Regions from separate parts of the Homo sapiens genome. Here all the other regions are linked to region 1. The links are contacts of gene promoters, found by promoter capture Hi-C in blood cells and fetal thymus (Javierre and others, 2016). All regions are on one chromosome and are shown on one strand. The core of a region is centred on a gene start or on the middle of the fragment in contact, and the rest is flanking DNA. Distances in the headings are between cores, read along the strand shown. Region 1 holds the start of RORC (RAR related orphan receptor C). Region 2 holds the start of PSMB4 (proteasome 20S subunit beta 4). Region 3 has its middle 7.9 kb from the start of SELENBP1. Region 4 has its middle 24 kb from the start of CGN. Region 5 overlaps POGZ (pogo transposable element derived with ZNF domain). Region 6 has its middle 4.0 kb from the start of RFX5. Region 7 has its middle 8.4 kb from the start of POGZ.

The links. The method cuts DNA at HindIII sites, captures the fragments that hold promoters and counts their contacts. A CHiCAGO score of 5 or more calls a contact.
Region 2: a contact is called between the fragment with the promoter of PSMB4 here and the fragment with the promoter of RORC in region 1, in 4 of 17 cell types (M2 macrophages, M1 macrophages, M0 macrophages and 1 more). The highest score is 7.9, in M2 macrophages.
Region 3: a contact is called between a fragment that was not itself captured here and the fragment with the promoter of RORC in region 1, in 3 of 17 cell types (M0 macrophages, endothelial precursors and M1 macrophages). The highest score is 7.9, in M0 macrophages.
Region 4: a contact is called between a fragment that was not itself captured here and the fragment with the promoter of RORC in region 1, in 9 of 17 cell types (M1 macrophages, erythroblasts, M2 macrophages and 6 more). The highest score is 12.6, in M1 macrophages.
Region 5: a fragment that was not itself captured here is called in contact with the fragment with the promoter of RORC in region 1 in 3 of 17 cell types (erythroblasts, M2 macrophages and M0 macrophages); the score reaches 6.2 in erythroblasts.
Region 6: a contact is called between a fragment that was not itself captured here and the fragment with the promoter of RORC in region 1, in 1 of 17 cell types (M1 macrophages). The highest score is 5.3, in M1 macrophages.
Region 7: a fragment that was not itself captured here is called in contact with the fragment with the promoter of RORC in region 1 in 3 of 17 cell types (endothelial precursors, M2 macrophages and M1 macrophages); the score reaches 5.6 in endothelial precursors.

The regions. Positions count from the first base shown.
Region 1 is chr1:151,830,432-151,833,131 of GRCh38, reverse strand. It overlaps RORC (RAR related orphan receptor C), which reads left to right and starts at 1,330. Exons shown (of 11, transcript NM_005060.4): 1 at 1,330-1,407. The coding sequence starts at 1,368. RefSeq lists an enhancer at 2,022-2,700. The HindIII fragment of the contact is 14,534 bases long and covers 1-2,700 here.
Region 2 is chr1:151,398,192-151,400,891 of GRCh38, reverse strand. PSMB4 (proteasome 20S subunit beta 4) reads right to left here and starts at 1,319. Exons shown (of 7, transcript NM_002796.3): 1 at 1,165-1,319; 2 at 705-911; 3 at 304-450; 4 at 47-128. The coding sequence starts at 1,304. RefSeq lists a silencer at 592-749 and enhancers at 518-1,239, 1,590-1,639, 1,240-1,962. The HindIII fragment of the contact is 7,561 bases long and covers 1-2,700 here.
Region 3 is chr1:151,379,222-151,381,921 of GRCh38, reverse strand. No RefSeq gene overlaps it. Among named protein-coding and RNA genes, the nearest start is that of SELENBP1, 7.9 kb to the right of the region's middle. The HindIII fragment of the contact is 1,170 bases long and covers 836-2,005 here.
Region 4 is chr1:151,485,891-151,488,590 of GRCh38, reverse strand. No RefSeq gene overlaps it. Among named protein-coding and RNA genes, the nearest start is that of CGN, 24 kb to the left of the region's middle. The HindIII fragment of the contact is 3,303 bases long and covers 1-2,700 here.
Region 5 is chr1:151,420,481-151,423,180 of GRCh38, reverse strand. All of the region lies in intron 10 of POGZ (pogo transposable element derived with ZNF domain), which reads left to right. Among named protein-coding and RNA genes, the nearest start is that of PSMB4, 22 kb to the right of the region's middle. The HindIII fragment of the contact is 726 bases long and covers 1,023-1,748 here.
Region 6 is chr1:151,349,854-151,352,553 of GRCh38, reverse strand. No RefSeq gene overlaps it. Among named protein-coding and RNA genes, the nearest start is that of RFX5, 4.0 kb to the right of the region's middle. RefSeq lists a silencer at 1,154-1,354. The HindIII fragment of the contact is 1,999 bases long and covers 339-2,337 here.
Region 7 is chr1:151,466,551-151,469,250 of GRCh38, reverse strand. No RefSeq gene overlaps it. Among named protein-coding and RNA genes, the nearest start is that of POGZ, 8.4 kb to the right of the region's middle. The HindIII fragment of the contact is 5,152 bases long and covers 1-2,700 here.

The DNA.
Region 1 (2,700 bases), core at 81-2,580:
AGGCACATACCCTTAGACTCAGTGCAGAAGGTCCCCAAAACTTCCCCTCCTCTTTCTCACTACTCATCCACTGTCAATGACCCTAGGAGTTGAAAAGTCCTTCTCCACTTCTACCTTTATCTCTCAATCTGCAGCCATGGGGAGACTCTGGGAGCTACCTAAGAACAGAGGTGCTGATGGTAGCAGAGTGTGAAGCTCCAGGGTTGGGCAGGAGTGGAGGATGGCGAGACGAGACGGCAGAAGAGGGAAGGGACAGCTGCTTGCCCTCTCCATGCCAGGTGCCACGTGCACCAGGTGGGGGGGAGTGGGCGAGTCACGAGGCTGTGGCATGGCTGACTCCTGCTCTGCTGTTTACCAGCTGGGAACGAGAGCAGGAGGAGGTGCCAGGGAGCCTCTTGCTGCAGCCTGGCCCCTGGCCAGTTGCTTGTTGGGTAACCAGGAGAGTCAGGCCCAGCTAATCAAACTCTGGGCCCAGGCCATGCAGGAGAAAAGCAGCACCAGGATCCCCAGAAGCCTCGTCCTCTTGGCCCCCTTCAGAGCCTTCACTGCAGGCCTCAGTGTGGGCCACTAGGTCTGGGAGCCTCTCCTTCTCCCAATGAGTCCAGTGCAGCATCTCTCCTCTCCTCTTCCCCACCATGGCTTCTCTGCCTCCAGGCACTCCTCCAGGCCTGCCCCTTGCCCCAACAGATGAGGAGCACGTAGAAGCATCAGGGGGTCAGGGAGTCCTGGCAAGAGCAGCAAGGGTTAGGGGCAGGGGCCGAGCAGGCAGAGGCCTCAGGGAACTGAACAGTCACTGGGAGGAGTCTGACTGCATCCTAGAGAAGAGACACAGTCCCCCAAACCTGCCCTCTCCATCTCCCCTATGCCTGTCACCTGTCTTAGGTAGAAATCACAGGATTCTAAAGTCACAAAGACTTGGGTCCAAATCATAGCTCACCCATTTATTGTTCTTGTGTGAGTCCTTGGGCAAAATCATTAATATCTCTGAGAATCCCTCCACTCACTGATCAATCTGGAATAATAATGTTTCCCTGTGGTGGGTGCTGTGAATATTTACACAAAGTAAAAGCATGGATTTACATAAAGTGTCCTGCAAAGGGCCCAGCACACAGTAAGTGATTAATAAATGCTAGTTCCCTTCCTTTCTCCTGTCCTGTTTCTCCTCAAGGCTCCATGCACTGGTCCACTGGTCTCTCCTCATGTCCCCTCCTGGTGCCAGGACACTCTGCCAGCCACTCCTTTTCCCTGCCTGCTGGAGGGCCAGGTGCTCCCGCCTTCCACCCTCCGCCCTCCTCCCTCCCCTGGGCCCTGCTCCCTGCCCTCCTGGGCAGCCAGGGCAGCCAGGACGGCACCAAGGGAGCTGCCCCATGGACAGGGCCCCACAGAGACAGCACCGAGCCTCACGGGGTAAGAGGCCCATGGCCCTGCCTGCAGGTGGAAGAGACTGCTGGAGGTTCAGAGGAGGGCAGAAATGGCAAGAGACTGGGCAAGAAGTGAGGAGGGGAGGGAGGGACAAGAGTGCAGAGGAGAAAGCCCTGGGTTGGCAGGGAGTGAAACTGGAGGAGAAACAGGAGGAGGGGCTGGGGAGATGACAGAGGAGAAGAAATCGCAAAAGGAGAGAAACAGGAAAGAAAGGGAGAAGCGGGAGAAGGAAGAAACAGGTTGGAGGGTAGATGGGGAGGGAAGAGCCAAGTCAGGGGAGCCAGATCTAGACCCAGCGAGGGGTCAGAATGTGGACAGGCCCTCCCAGGTGTGGGCTTACCCCCCAGGAGGCACAGGGACACTGCTTCCTTGATCTGGCCAGGACCCCAGACAGCAGTGGCCGGGAGGCTGGCTGCTCCACCTTCTGTTCATTCACCAGTGGAGAAACCTGTCCTTTAAGGAGTGACAGACTTGGGGAGTGTGGCAGGGGGAACCACACCCTGTCAGCTGCCCATGACCACGTAGCCTGGTCCTTTCCTCGCCACTCACCCAGGGATGTGGGATTTCATCTCTGCAGAGAATGTGGGGCACTGGGCCATCAGCAGGGAAGGACAGAATGTCAGGCCGTCCTTGGCCCCACCCATGGTCCAAGTCAGGAACCCCCTCAGAGCAGGATCGCAGGGCCACAGGCTTGGTCAGCTGTGAGCATGGAGGAGGAAAGTTTGAGGGCCAGAGCCACCAAGCTCCAGGGCCACCTGGTGGAGGAAGAACTGGCTGCCTGGGTGAGCAAGGGGAGCACCCCCACCACAGGACTGCTCTGAGGTGCAAGGCTAGAGGCCAGGAGCCGGTGCCACGTCAGGGAGGAAGCTGGGTGGGGCCAGGCAGGAGCAAGGGGAGGTGGGCGGGGCTGGGTGGGGCCTTGCCACCTCGGGGCAGTCTTTTCTCCTCCCTCACCCCAGCAGAGCCCAGGCCATCAGGCCACTCGCCTCCACACAGCCTAGTGACCACGGCCTGCCAGTGGGGAGCATCTCCCGGGCAGAAGGGCACTGTGTGTGTGTGTGTGTGTGTGTGTGTGTGTGTGTGTGTGTATGTCAGGTGTCAAGACTGAACAGCAGAAGGAAAAAAATAACAGAATAGAGTCAGAGGTTAGGGAAGCTATAGGGGGTATAGGGCATGGTTGAAGGGCTTTCTGAGACAAAAGACTGGCCATGTGTTCTGTGATGAGCTGCTATGTGGATGTAGGAAATGGGCCAAGGTCTGGCAGGGGAATCCTCTTTC
Region 2 (2,700 bases), core at 70-2,569, 430 kb after region 1:
TTTCCTTTTGTCTTCCCTTTCCCCCACCTCTAGACTTACTACTTACCTGAGCCAAGTATGCACCATAACCAGTGGCCAGCGAAGGGGCTTCATAGGCTACACCAAGCATGTCCACATAACCGAGGAAGCTAACAGGACACAATGGGTCAAAACTCATTTCACCTTAGATTCATCTTAGCTGAAGAAGGGGACCATGGGGTCTGAGTTAAAGTGGGATTCACTTGGGGAGAAGAGACAGAAGAGATACTACACAGGTACTAGGTTGGGTGGTAAAGGAAATAAGTTATTTGTATTCATATGAACCTCTCTCCATCAGCATAGCCTCCGATGACCATGGTGTTCCACAAAGGGTTCATCTTCGAGCGCCGGCTGTACATGGCCCTGGTCAGCCATGAATGAATAGCTCTAGGACTATAGCTGTGTCCATCTCCCAGAAGCTCCTCATCAATCCTTAAAAGGAATTGGTTGTGAGAAAAGGGAGAGAATTAAGTCGGGGTCTCCACCCATCCCCAAAAGAAGTTACCACACCTTCCCCCATTTTACACCTAATGCCAAAAACTTTATTGCAAACACAGATCGCCCACCTCCAACAACTCTTCCAGTCCCCCGCTGCAACAAGTCCCCCCATCCCATCGAAGGGAATAAAAAACAGGGGACTCCCCTCTCTACTTGGGAACCACTCTCCTGTTCTCTGGATGACTTACACCATCTGGCCGAGAACTTGCTTCAAATACTGGAAATCAGCGTAGTCGCCAGAGGCACCCAGCATGGTACTGTTGTTGACTCGCATAATGCGAGAGATGTTGCGGAAACGAGCCAAGGAGCCGTAGGATCCCAGCATGTCTGCGGCAATCACCACTCCGCCCTCGAACTTAACGCCGAGGACTGAGGTCCCGGTCACCATGGGGTTCCTAAAGAGTGAGAACGGTGGGAGCTGAGAGGGGGGATGGACTGCGCCCTCTTTCCGCGCACTGAGCTGCGCTTCTGATTTTCTATAATTCCTTCCAATTATTCTGCATTCTCCAGGACTCCGCGCCCTGAGCTCCCCTGCCGTTCGCGCGCCCCCGGGGTCCCCGCCTCACCTTCCCGGGCTCTCAAAACCAGCCGGCAGCACCAGGCCCCACGGTCCCTCCCGCTACGCAAACGAAAGCGCCGAGAACTTACTGGGTCCGCGTGATTGGACCTCTGTAAAGTGCAGACGCCGGATCCATGAAGGAATCGGGAGTGGACGGAATGCGGTAAAACTGTCCTGGGGCCGGACCCCCCGCCCAAAGTCCGGACCGCGACCCCAAAAACGCTTCCATCTTAGTCACGGTAGCAGAAAAAATGAAAGCGCTTGCGCCAACGGAAGCGGAAGTGATCCTTCAGTGTCATTTCTTTCTTTTTCCTGTAGACGACTTCCAGCAGCCATGTTGATGAGGTCGTAGCTGAACATGCAGTAATCCTAGGTGGCGACCGAGACAGGGAGTTGAAATTGCCCAACATCGCTTCGCATCGCATCGCATCTCCGTGGAGTTTGGACCAGATCACAGCGTTCTAACACACGATTCAAGGAGGAGGGAGGCATGAAGGTGGGGTGGGGAGGTGGCCACTTAAAGACGCTGATCCTGAGTGAGACGTCACAATTTTTTATTTTATTTTTTATTTTTTTGAGACGGAGTCTCGCTCTGGCCCCCAGGCTGGAATGCAGTGGCGCGATCTCGGCTCACTGCAACCTCCGCCTCCCAGATTCAAGCGATTCTCGTGCCTTAGCCTCCCGAGTAGCTGGGATTACAGGCGCCTGCCACCACGCCTGGCTAATTTTTTGTATTTTTGCTAGAGATGGGGTTTCACCATGTTGGCCAGGCTGGTCTCGAACTCCGGATCTCAGGTGATCCGCCTGCCTCGGACTCCCAAAGTGCTGGGATTACAGGAGTAAGCCGCCTCGCCCGGCCTAGAAGTCACAGTTCTCATGTTCCTTTTGTATCATTATCAAAAAGCCCACATGAAAATATCAGTGAACACAGGATCTCTTACATCTGTACTCCTCAGAGCAGCCCCATGTGGCAGGCATTATTCGACCCATTTGGTAAATAGGAAACCGAGGCTTGCGGTGTAGTGATTTACCCAGTCACACAGCCGATAACGGTAGAACTGAATCTTGAAGCTAGAATAAAAAAAGGAATCAGGGCCGGGTGCGGTGGCTCATGCCTGTAATCCCAGAACTTTGGGAGGCCAAGACGGGAGGATCACTTGAACCCAGGAATTCAAGACCAGCCTTGGCAACATGGTGAGACCTCACCTCTACAAAACAAAACAAAACAAAAAATTAGCCAGGCCTGTAATTCCAGCTACTTGGGAGGGTGAGGTGGGAGAATCGCCTGAACCCGAGGGAGGTTGCAGTGAGCCAAGGTGGCGCCACTGCACTCCAGCCTGGGCAACAGAGCGAGACCCTGTCACAAAAAAAAAAAAAAAAAAAAAAAAAAAAAGAATACACTTGTGTATACCCTGTGGGGTGTGATAGCTCAGGTGGATCAAGCACTCTCTGTGGGACCTTAGACAAGTCTGAAAGTTTCCTTATTGTCAAGGGCCCTTGCCCACCTCTAAAGAAACAGAAAAATTCCATTGGAAGTGTAGGGGTGAAACTAAATTCCAGGGGTTTCCTTCTCAGTGTAACTCCATAGCAGGGGCTGGAAACTGTCTTGAATCAAACTGGTGAAT
Region 3 (2,700 bases), core at 171-2,670, 450 kb after region 1:
CCTCTCATGTTTGGTTTCTCTTGGGACCCAGAAGCTCAGAAGAGGCTGTTTTTCAAGAGAACTGTTCTTTGCTGAAGTGGGCTGGGCTCAATCATTTGGGGTCACCCTGGGGACTCTCCTTCTGCCTCTTGCCTGCCTCATCCCATGGATCACCCCAACTCACCAAGCATCACTGGATCTGCTCGATCATAAGGCCCCAGTGGCAGAAGTGGTTGCAGCCAGAGAGCCCTTTCTTGTCCTAGATCCCAATCAAAGGACACTGCCTCTACCCCTCAAGTTCTATGTGCTGCCATGGCACCACCAGCTGCGCTGGACCCTGGGAGGTTCTGCAGCATGGTGACCCACCCGCACACCAGCCTTCCCTGCAGCAACCAGAACCCACTCCCTACTTCCTTGTGTTGGAGTCTCCGGTGGGCACACCTGGCTGCGTCCAAGACCAAGTCACATGCTTGCTCCTAGCAGCAAGGAGGCCTAAGGCCTGGGACGGTGAGTATCTGGCCTTTTGCCTCCCACCCAATATAGAAAGGGCTGAATGTGCTGGCCAGCCATCCAAGCAACAAAACACAAAAGCATTCTGTCTGAAGGGGCTGCGAACTTATGTGCATAGAGGTCCCAGGCCAGAGCCTGAAGCTACTGCCTGGCTTCAGATCCTGGGCTCTGCTACTCACTAGCTGTGTAACTTTGTATGAGTTGCTTCCTCTTTCTATGCTGTAACTTCTTTATCTGTAAATTGGACATAATGAAAATACCCACTTCATAGGGATGTTGTAAACCCTGTATAAGTAAAGGCAGAACATGCAAATAGCTCAGAGAAGTACTTGGCACATGGAAAGCTTTTATATGAGGTGGATGTGGTTCATTTCTCTTTCTTTATCCCTAAGTACTTCGAACAGTACCATGTATTTAATAAATGATAGCTGTTGTTATTTTATTATTACAGTTTGGGTATCCCTTATCCAAACTGCTTGGGACCAGAAGTGTTCCAGATTTCAGATTTTTTTCAGATTTTGGAATACATATATATATATTAAAATATCTTGGGGATGGGACCCAAGTCTAAACGCAAATTTATTTGTGTTTCATAAACACCTTATACACATAGCCTGAAGGTAACTTTATACAATATTTTAAATAATTTGTACATGAAACAAAGTCTTGACTGTGACCCAACACGTGAGGTCAGGCACGCAATTTGCTACCTGTGGTGTCACACTGGTGCTCAAAACATTTCAGATTTTGGAGCATTTTGGATTTCAGATTTTCAGATTAAGGATGCTCAACCTGTACCTATATCTTTTTTCTTTTTTTTTTTTTTTTTTAGACAGAGTCTCCCTCTGTCGCCCCAGGCTGCAATGCAGTGGTGCAATTTTGGCTCGCTGCAACCTCCACCTCCCAGGTTCAAGTGATTCTCCTGCCTCAGCCTCCCAAGTAGCTGGGATTGCAGGTGTGTGCCACCACGCCAGGCTAATTCTTATACTTTTAGTAGAGACAGGGTTTTGCCATGTTGGCCAGGCTGGTCTCGAACTCTTGACCTCAGGGGATCCACCTGCCTCAGCCTCCCAAAGTGCTGGGATTACAGGCGTGAGCCACCGCCTCAACCTGTACCTGTTTCTTGCCTACTTGTGCAGGTATTTCCATGGGATTGCATCCTTGAAGTGAAATTCCTAGGTAAAACAGTATGCACAGTTTAACTTTTGTGAGGTATTGACAAATTGTTTTTGTTAGTAAGGCACCAATTGACACTCTCATTAGTCCTAAATGAGTGGTCCCTTTGCCGCATAGTCTCACCAATACAAGATTTTAACCTTTAAATTTTTTGCCCATCTTATAGGCAAAAATGTTACTGTATTCTTTCACTGTTTCAATTGTTTACACATGTATTTCAAACTTAATATAAAATTTTAAAAATATGATTGATACATAATGTGAAAAATAAAAATTGCTCCCTGTAATCCAATTCTTGAGGTAACCACTGTTAGCTACATTTGGCATGATAAGGGAAGCTTTATCTCTACAAATCCTTTTCTTTAGGTTTTTTTTTTTTTTTTTAAGCGGAGTCTTGCTCTGTCGCCCAGGGTGGAGTGCAGTGGCACGATCTCAGCTCACTGCAACCTCCACCTCCCGGGTTCATGCCATTCTCCTGCCTCAGATTCCCAAGTAGCTGGGACTACAGGCGCCTGCCACCATGCCCGGCTAATTTTTTTTTTTTTTTTTTTTTTTGTATTTTTAGTAGAGATGGGGTTTCGCTGTGTTAGCCAGGATGGTCTCGATCTCCTGACCTCGTGATCCGCCCGCCTCGGCCTCCCCAAGTCCTGGAATTACAGGAGTGAGCCACCACGCCCGGCCTACTTTTTTTTTTTTTTGAGACAGCGTCTCACTCTGCCACCCAGACCAGAGTGCAGTGGTGCAATCACAGCTCACTGCAGCCTCGACCTCCAGGGCTTAAACAATCTTCCCACCTCAGCACACCTTCCCCACCCCCGAAGTAGCTAGGACTACAGGAGCCTGCCAGGCCTAAATTGTTTTAATTTTTTGTAGAGACGGTGTCTCATTATGTTGCCCAGGCTGGTCACAAACCCCTGGGCTCAAGCAATCTGCCTGCCTCAGCCTCCCAAAATACTGACATCAATCATAAGCCAAATCCTTTTCTATGAACGTATAGATGGATGAATAAATAAATAAATATAAATTTAACTAGTT
Region 4 (2,700 bases), core at 32-2,531, 340 kb after region 1:
AAGACCGTCTCCAAAAATAAAAATGAAAAAAGAAATAGTAAAGACAAACAACCTAATAAGGAAATGAACAAAGGATAGAAACAGGCAGTTCACAAAAAGAAAACAAGAAAATGACCAAATACATAGGGAAAATGTTCACACATACTAAATAGATGCAAATTAAATAGATGTAAATTATAGGCCGGGGGCAGTGGCTCAAGCCTGTAACCCCAGCACTTTGGGAGGCTGAGGCAGGAGGATCACTTGAACCCAGGAGTTCAAGACCAGCCTGGGCAACATAGCAAGACTCTACAAAAAGTTTTAAAATTAGCCAGATATGGTGGTGCATACCTGTAGTTCCAGCTACTTGGGAGGCTGAGGTGAGAGGCTCCCTTGAGCCTGGGAGGTCAAGGCTGCAGTGAACCATGATTGTGCCACTGCACTCCAGCCTGGGAGACAGACAAAGACTCTGTCTCAAAACAAAGCAAAAAATTAAAATGACTACAAGATATCATTTTTTGCCTATCAGACTGGCAAATTTTTTAAGGTTTGGAAATTCCTGGAGTTGACACCTGTGAGAAAATAGGCACTCTCAAATATTCTTTATAGGAGCAAAAATCAGTACAAACTTTTTGGAGAGCAACTATGCAGTAACTATTATTTGAAATACAATTATCAGCCAGGCACGGTGGCTCACACCTGTAATCCCAGCACTTTGGGAGGCTGAGGTGGGCAGATCACGAGGTCAAGAGATCGAGATCATCATAGCCAACTTGGTGAAACCCTGTCTCTACTAAAAATACAAAAATTAGCCGGGCGTGGTGGCGGGCACCTGTAATCCCAGGTACTCAGGAGGCTGAGGCAGGAGAATCGCTTGAACCCAGGAGGTGGAGCTTGCCGTGAACTGAGATCACTCCACTGCACTCCCGCCTGGACAACAGAGTGAGACTCCATCTCAAAAACAAACAAACAAACAAAACAAAACAAAAAAACAGATATCCTGGCTAGGCTCAGTGGCTCACGCCTGTAATCCTAGGACTTTGGGAGGCCAAAGCAGGTGGATTGCTTGAGCTCAGGAGTTGGAGATCAGCCTGGGCAATGTGGTGAAATCCTGTCTCTACAAAAAATATAAAAATTAGCCAAGTGTGGTGGCATGCATTTGTAGTCCCAGCTATTCAGGAGGCTGAGGTAGGAGGATCACTTGAGCCTGGAAGGTTGAGGCTGCAGTAAGCAAAGATCACGCCACTATACTCCATCCTGGATGACAAAGTGAGACCCTGCCCAAAAAAAAAAAAAAAAAGAAAGAAAGAAAGGAAGGAGGGAAGGAAGAAAGAAAAGAAAAGAAAAGAAAAGAGGGAGGGAAGGAGGGAGGGAGGGAGGTAAGGGAGGAAGGAGGGAGGGAGGGAGGGAAAGAGAAAGGAAGGAAGGAAGGAGAGAGAGAAAGGAAGGAAGGAAGGAAGGAAAAAAATAAAAGAATACTCAAGGTGCTTTCATGGTCATCCACAGACATGCAGAGAGCAGCAAAAGAAATTTTGCTGGGACTACAGGCACGTGCCAAAACACCTGGCTAATTTTTGTATTTTTTGTAGAGATGGGATTTTGCCATGTAGCCCAGGCTGGCCTTGAACTCCTGGACTCAAGCAATCCATTCGCTTCGGCCTTCCAAAGTACTGGGATTACAAGTGTGAGCCACTGTGACCACCCAAAACTTCCCTTTCATCATGTCATTTCCCTCTGGAAAATCTCAACAATTCTCCATTGCCTATTACAGCAAATCTAACTTTCAAAGTCTTACATAATCAGGTCTCCACCTATGTCTCCCTACTCTCCAATTCCAGTCCTATTGGCTAGCATTCCTTCTCACTCTCCACCTTATCTGGCCCCAGCCATGCCAGTTGCTGCCTCCATACTTTTGCCTGTTGATCCCCAGATCTAGGCCACACCTCTGTGGCTACTCAAATCCTACCAATTGCTCAGTTTCACTACTTCAGTGAAACCCTTCTTGATTTCTTTTTTTCTATAATTTTTTCCAATTATAAATTCTTATGAGGCTAAACCACAAGATGAATGTTTCACTTATATGTTATTTATAAATTATAACTGTAAATTTATAATTGTTTTGTATATATTTATTTAAAAGCACTTTAGCACTTACTATTACTATTTTAATTACTTTACAAATATTACCTCATTTGATTTTCATAATGACCTTATGAAGTATTATCATTTCCATTTTAAGTGAGGAAATCAAAGTGCAGAGATGTTAAGTAACTTGCCCAAGGTCATACAGTAAGTAGCAGGATTCACACCCTGACAGTCTGACTCTAGAATCATGCTTATAGTCATGCATGTAATAAGAATATACAGTTCTGCCTTTTGATTGCTTAAATGGATTAATTATATGATGAGGTCCTTGGGAGGGGATTCCCATTTCTTCTCTTGAGAGCCTCATATCATGTACTTAAAAGTCTTATCAACTGCCTGGAGTTTTCTAGGTTTCATTTTCATGGGAGGCTGATACTTCTAGCTCTGGGAATGGACTTGCGATTAGGATGCTGGGCATTAAGCCAAGCATGGTTCCCTTGAATTTGCTAGCTGTCTCCTTTCTATTTGAATTCCCCATCTTTCTTCCATAGATGGGCCATGCCAAGCCCTTTGCTCCCCTCTGGCTTCCCTCACTGATTGCCAGGAGCTCACAGTGAGTCCTATGGCCATGAGAGG
Region 5 (2,700 bases), core at 136-2,635, 410 kb after region 1:
TCCTGAATTGTTAGGGGCGTTGATTCAGAACCACTGTAGAAAAACAAATGTAATTAATTTATTTCTTAGGTCTCTTTATAGAAGGAACAGTCATCTATTTGCTCTTCCACTTTAGTTAAACCCTGATAGGTTTTATGTAGGCTAAAAGATAATATTGTGAAGTACTTTATCATTAAGACATTGCTTTCAATGAAATATAAGATGAGCTGGAGTGTTTTCTACACTGTATATTTTATACATGTAGGCTGGACATAAGCTCAAAGAAATTAAGTAGGATAAAAGATAATATGGCCGGGCACGGTGGCTCACGCCTGTAATCCCAACACTTTGGGAGGCCGAAGCAGGCAGATCACCTGAAGTCAGGAATTCGAGACCAGCCCGGCCAACATGGCGAAGCCCCATCTCTACTAAAAATGCAAAAATTAGCTGGGTGTGGTGGCGGGCACCTGTAATCCCAGCTACTCGGGAGGCTGAGACAGGAGAATCGCTTGAACCCGGGAGGCGGAGGTTGCAGTGAGCTGAGATCATGCCATTGCACTCCAGTCTGGGCAACAAGAGCAAAACTCCATCTCCAAAAAAAAAAAGATAATATTATGAAGTACTTTATCATTAAGACAGTGCTTTCAGTGAAATATAAGGTAAGCTGGAATGTTTTTCTACACTGTACATTTTATAGATAGATGTAGGCTGAACATAAGCTCAAAGAAATTGAGTCATTTGCTTATGAGCGTACACCTCTAAATACACCTCTACTGGGGATACATAGTGAGGATTTAAGCCCAGTATTGAGAATACTTCTCATGTCCTTTACGGGATTTCCAGTTTTGTTGTAAAGACAAAAATTATGTAAATATAGGAAAATGTGAGAACAAGATAGTATATTATAAACATAGACATTTTAAGATATCATTGATAGGTGAAATACTTCAGAGAAGGGAAAAAATCCTTGTGGCTAGGTTTCCAAGAAAGTCGTGCTTAAATTTAAGAAAGGTTTAGATGGATGGAGAGTAGTAAGAAAAGCTTTTAGGTGATTGAAAACAGCATGATCAAAAGCATAGAAGACATATGCATATTATCTGGATGCATTTGCTACAAGTAAAAATCCTTAACTAAAAATGAATTAAACAATAAGGACTGGGTGTGGTGGCTCACACCTGTAATCCCAGCACTTTGGGAGGCTTAGGTGGGTGGATCAGTTGAGGCCAGGGGAGACCAGTCTGGCCAACATGGCAAAACCACATCTCTACTAAAAATACAAAAATTCGCTGGCTGTGGTGGTGTGCGCAGGTAATCCCAACTACTCAGGAAGCCAAGGCATGAGAATCACTTGATCCCAGGAGGTAGAGGTTGCAGTGAGCTGAGATCGCACCACTGCACTCCAGCCTGGATGACAGAGCGAGTCTCTGTCTCAAAACAAAAGAAAACAATAAGAATATCTGTTATATCATTTAACTGAGAGATACAGAAATGGATGCTTCAGCCTAGAATTTGACTGCCCTGCTGGTTTTCAACAATTCTCTTGTCTCTGGCTCATAGCAGGGTGGCTGTATAAGTGTCAGGCACTATGTCCAGATAAAAAATTGTTAGACAAAGAAGAGATCTTATCTTCCCATCTTTCTTTCTTGAATCTGTTTTCTTATGAGTGAGAATTGCTTTCCTTTTATATCTCTTTGACCATTTATTGGCAAGGGAAGTGGGATTGACATTAATGGCTTACAGTAACACTAGGCAGTAGAAATACGCAAGCTTCATGAGTAATTTTAATTTTTTTCACTTTAAATACAGTAGCGCTCCCTTATCCTCAATTTTTCTTTCTTGAATCTGTTTTCTTATGAGTGAGAATTGCTTTCCTTTTATATCTCTGACCATTTATTGGCAAGGGAAGTGGGATTGACATTAATGGCTTACAGTAACACTAGGCAGTAGAAATATGCAAGCTTCATGAGTAATTTTAATTTTTTTCACTTTAAATACAGTAGCGCTCCCTTATCCTCAATTTTAGTCTCAATCACAGTCCAAAACTAGGTGAGTGCAGTACAATAAGATTATTGAGAGAGACACCACATTCACATAACTTTTATTACAGTATATTGTTATAATTATCCTTTTATATATTATATATTTTTAATTGTTAATCTCTTTGCCTAATTTATAAATTAAACTTTATCATAGGTATATATATATATATATATGAAAAAACACGGTATGTATAGGGTTCAATACTATCTGAGGTTTCATGTATGCACTGGGGGTCTTGGAACGTATATTTCCCATTGGCAAAGGGCGTCTACTGTAAAGTTTAAAAAAACAGGCAAAATTAATTTTAACAGCATATTTTATTCAGTATATTAAAAATATTTCAACATGAACTCAAAATTTAAAATTAATGAGATATTCGTCATTCTTTTTTCCTCCATTAAAAAACAGATCTTTTGAAATACAAATCTAAATTGGGTTTGAGCTTACCACATTTTAAGTGTTCACTAGATACATGTTGCTGGTGCCACCATATTAGACAGTGAAACTTTGGACTAATCATTTGGGAGTAGAATGTATATTAGAATCAACCGGGCCAGGTGCAGTGGTTCACACCTGTAATCTCAGCACTTTGAGAGGCCGAGGCAGGCAGATTGAGCTTAGGAGTTCAAGACCAGCCTGGGCAGCATGGAGAAACCCCGTCTCTACAAAAAAAATACAAAA
Region 6 (2,700 bases), core at 89-2,588, 480 kb after region 1:
GAGGAGAAAGAAGAAACCAGTCAGGCAGGCAGTTAAGGTGGGTCCTTGGTAAAACTCCTTCAAACAAAGAACAGCCTGAAAATTAAACTGCAGGCCCCAGATAAGTGACAGCCCGCATCCTGGAATGGAAATACCTACTCTAGGAACCCAGATGAACAAATACCACTCCCTTTTTGGACATATTTCACTCTCTTTGGCACACCTTAGTCTCTTAGTTTTCATCTATTTTACATATGCTTACCTTTCTGTGATTGGCCACAGCGGGAGTCTTCATTTACATAGGGTGAATCATCACTTCAGCCCCTGATTGGTTCCAGGCCAAGGTCCTGGCCCAAGCTTTCACTTCAGCCCCTGACTTGGTTCCAGGCCAAGTTGTTGAGCCAAGCCTTCACTTCTGCCTCCAACTGGTTCTTTACACTATCATACCTCTTTCTGAGTGGTGCTTTCTGCAAGATAGCCTGCAGGCCCGATCAGCACACTCCTCCCTTTCCCAGTCCATAAGCCACCCTCCTCACCCTCCCACTCAGCCTCATAGCTGGCAATCCTCTTTCAGGCCCCCTCTTTGCTGAGAGCTTTTCTGTTGCTTAATAAATCTGACTCTGGCTGGTCAGGAGTTTGAGACCAGCCTGGCCAACATGGTGAAACCCCGTCTGTACTAAAAATACAAAAAATTAGCCAGGTTCGGTGGCTCACACCTGTAATCCCAGCACTTTGAGAGGCCAAGACGGGCAGATCATGAGGTCAAGAGATTGAGACCGTCCTGGACAACATGGTGAAACACCATCTCTACTAAAAATACAAAAATTAGCTGGGCATGGTGGCAGGCGCCTGTAATCTCAGCTACCTGGGAGGCTGAGGCAGGAGAATTGTTTGTACCCAGGAGGTGGAGGTTGCAGTGAGCCAAGATTGTGCCACTGCACTCCAGCTTGGTAACAGAGTGAAACTCCATCGCCCCCCCGCCAAAAAAAAAACAAAAAGCAAAATATTGGCTGGGTGTGGTAGCAGGCACCTACAGTTCTAGCTACTTGGGAGGCTGAGGCAAGAGAATCGCTTGAACCCGGGAGGCGGAGGTTGCAGTGAGCCAAGATCATGCCACTGCACTCCAGTTCAGGTGACAGAGTGAGACTCCCCCATCTCAAAAAAAATAATAAAATAAATAAGTAAATAAATAAATAAATCTGACTGCCTTACTCACTCTCCAGTGTCTACACACCTTATTCTTCTTGGTCGTGGGACAAGAATACAGAGTCCACCAGCAGTTGAAGTGAAAATGCTGGAACACTCCCTCCCACTCTCCAAACAGCAAGAGTGAAAAAGCTGCAACAGGCCAGGCATGGTGGCTCACGCCTATAATCCCAGCACTTTTGGAAGCCAAGGTGGGTGGATCATTTGAGGTCAGGAGCTCAAGACTAGCTTGGCCAAAATGGTGAGACCCCATTTCTACTAAAAATACAAAAATTAGCCAGGTGTGGTGGCACACGCCTGTAATCCCAGCTACTCAGGAGGCTGAGGTAGGAAAATCACTTGAACCTGGGAGGCAGAGGTTGCAGTGAGCCAAGTGCAGTGGAGCCACTGCACTACAGCCTGGATGACAGAGTGAGACTCTGTCTAAAAAGGAAAAAAAAAAAAAGCTGCAACGCAAAGAGCCTAGGTGCAGATCCTGGCTCCATAGCTTACTAAATTATGATGTAATCTTGGGCAAATTATTAACCTTTCAATGCCTGTCTCCTCACCTGTAAAATGGGGATAATCATAGTATCTATCTGAGGCCGCACGCGGTAGCTCACGCCTGTAATCCCAGCACTTTGGGAGGCTGAGGCGGGCGGATCACGAGGTCAGGAGATAGAGACCATCCTGGCTAACATGGTGAAACCCCGTTTCTATTAAAAATACAAAAAAATTAGCCCGGTGTGGTGGCAGGCGCCTGTAGTCCCAGCTACTTGTGAGGCTGAGGCAGGAGAATCACTTGAACCTGGGAGGCAGAGCTTGCAGTGAGCCGAGATTGCGCCACTGCTCTCCAGCCTGGGTGACAGAGCAAGAATCCGTCTCGAAAAAAAAAAGAACGGGCCCCAACACATATTAGGCTCTGTATAAATACTTGCTGTTATATGATGCTTATCCGGACAATTTTTATTGTTACTGCCCAAGGCAAGGACCATACCTTATTCAGCTTTGTATCCCTAGCTCTTAACACAATGCCTGGCATAAATTAATAGTTTCCTCTTTCCTATCTCTAGCCTTTTCTTTCACTCAACTCTACCTTCTATAGTGCTGTCAAAATCATCTCTTTTACTAGGTACTATGTACTATGATACTTTCTCCCCCCTTACTAAAGCTTCCAGTTTTTCCCTGTTATCTGCAAATTTTTAAGCTAGATAACTTACCCAAAACTCTGTTTGCAACCAAAGTGCTCTAGGTTCTCCTTCATACCAAACAGTGGTGTTAGGGCTATCTTTCCATCAGTCTATATCCATATTTGGCTTGCTATTTATTTATTTATTTATTTAGAGATGGAGTTTCGCTCTTGTTGCCCAGGCTGGAGTGCAATGGCATGATCTCGGCTCACCCAACCTCCGCCTCCCAGGTTCAAGCAATTCTCCTGCCTCAGCCTGCCAAGTAGCTGGGATTACAGGCATGCACCACCACGACTGGCTAATTTTGTTTTGTTTTTTGTTTTGTTTTTTGTTTTTTGTTTTTAGT
Region 7 (2,700 bases), core at 25-2,524, 360 kb after region 1:
CCATGTTAGCCAGGCTGGTCTTGAACTCCCGACCTCGTGATCCGCCCACCTTGGCCTCCCAAAGTGCTGGGATTACAGGCGTGAGCCACCACATCCGGCCTCTTTGTTGGTTTTATCAGTAACTTTATTAATCTGCTGCCCACGTGGAATGCCTTTCTTCTTTTCCCTCATTTATCTACATCCTGCCCCTTCTTTAAGACAAGGTCTGAGCCCACTCCTTTCAAGAATTTTTCACCGAAGACTTGAGCCTGCACAGATCTTTCCTATCTCTTGCCAGAAGGTACTGTCTGTCTCATACATTTAACATCATTTTATATGTCATATTCTTTAATTGCCTGGGCCACACAAATTAACACTTGGCAATATTACGTTACCTATTTTGTTAATTAACATGTGGAAGAAATAGTAGGGTTTTACTAAATGCTTGACTGATTAAGAACAATAACTACGTATTTCTTGGAAGTTATTACTTCAAGCAATTTTATAAAAGATGCTTGAGCCCAAGACCCAAAGTATTTAGAAGAGATACCTTAAGGTAAGAAATCTCGGGAAGAATCAGAATAGGGAGCCTGTCATCCATGAGTATAGTCAAATGTTATCATGTCCCATAAAATATTTATATCTTAAGAATTATTGGTAAAAACTATCATTTATGGAGTAACTACTGTAAAGTATTGGCCTAGACATTTTATATATTATATCTCTAATATAACAACCCTGCAATGTAACTAATATCAGGCTCTATCCAGTTCACCATGTTGTCTCTCATTCTTTTTTGTTGTGTTTTGTTTTGTTTAGAGACAGGTCTCACACTGCCACCCAGGCTGGAGTGCAATGGCACAATCGTAGCTCACTGCAGCCTCAAAATCCTGGGCTCCAGCAGCCTTCCCGCCTCAGCCTCTCCAGTGGCTGGGACTACAGGCACGCACTACCACACCCAACTAACTTTTTACTTTTTGTAGAGATAGGGTTTCATTACGTTGCCCAGGCTGCTCTTGAACTTTTGGACTCAAACAATCCTCCCTCCTTGGCCTCCCAAAGTTCTGGGATTACAGGCGTGAGCTACTGCACCTGGCCTTGTCTCACATTCTTAACCATAAAAGTGTCCTGGGAACTTCTTATTTTTTCAGTCCAACCTTTATACCCGTTTATTAGTCAGTATAATTAGGCTATCCTACATTAACAAATTAATCCTGGAATCTCAGTGATTTAGCACAATAAATTTTTTTTGTTGTTATTCTGGTAAAGTCTGATGTATTCTGGGCAACTCACTAGTTCAACTCTACTTCATGGGGTGACTCAGGAATCTAGGATGCTTCCATACTCTGGTTCTACCATCCCATTTGATGGGAAAAGAGGAGGCATGTCAACCTTTAAATTGAAGGGCAATTGATGGATTACTTCTGGCCCAGAACATTCTTGAGGTCAGGAGTTCGAGACCAGCCTGGCCAATATGGTGAAACCCCATTTCTACTAAAAAATGCAAAAAAAAGGTTAAGAGATCACGAGGTCAGGAGATCGAGACCATCCTGGCTAACATGGTGAAAACCCGTCTCTACTAAAAATACAAAAAATTAGCCGGATGTGGTGGCGGGCTGAAATCACACCACTGCACTCCAGCCTGGGTGACAGAGAGAGACTTTGTCTCATAAAAAAAAAAAAAAAAAAAAAGGTTAAGATTCACTTTCTAGGCTAGGAATAACATTCTGGGCCAGAAGTAATCCATCAATTGCACTTACATTCCCATTTACAAGGACTCAATCTTGAGGCCCTGATACAGCTACAAGAGAGGCTGGGAAATGAGAGTACATGAATATTCAGTGAGCCACAGTCAATATAGTAAAGGCAGGCATCCCAGGAGAGCCACTATTCTTGCAAGGTTGGAGAATCAAAATAACCTCCTTAATGCCAATTATATCAACTCAACTGGCTGAAGTAACTAGACTATCTGATCATCTATGGGGTTCTAGAGGTTCCTGGACTTTCCTACATGTCGAAGAACATCTTGGGCAAAGATAAAGGAAGAAGTAAAATAATAATAATAATGGCCGGGTACAGTGGCTCACGCCTGTAATCCCAGCACTTTAGGAGGCCAAGGCGGGCGGATCATGAGGTCAGGGCTTCGAGACCAGCCTGGCCACTATGGTGAAACCCCGTCTCTACTAAAAATACAAAAATTAGCCAGGTGTGGTGGCACGCGGGTGTAGTCCCAGCTACTCAGGAGGCTGAGGCAGAAAAATTGCCTGAACCCAGGAGGCGGAGGTTGCAGTGAGCTGAGATCGTACCACTGCACTCCAACCTGGGTAACACAGTGAGACTCCATCTCAAAAATAATAATAATAACAGTAATATAGTAATAGTAATATAATAATAGTAAGCCACATGTTAGAGTGAGAAGAAACTCTAGTTCTTTGGGCACATATGTTCATATAGGATTATTGAGAAATGTATCATTTCTCTAGGAAGATAGGGAATGAAGCATAACTTTTTTTTTTTTTTTTTTTCTCGAGACAGAGTCTTGCTCTGTCACCCAGGGAGGAGCGCAGTGGCACAATCTCAGCTCACTGCAACCTTCGCCTCCCATGCTTCAGCCTCAGGAGTAGCTGGAATTACAGACCTGCACCCCCATGCCCGGCTAATTTTTGTATTTTTAGTAGAGATGGGATTTCGCCATATTGGCCACGCTAGTCTTGAACTCCT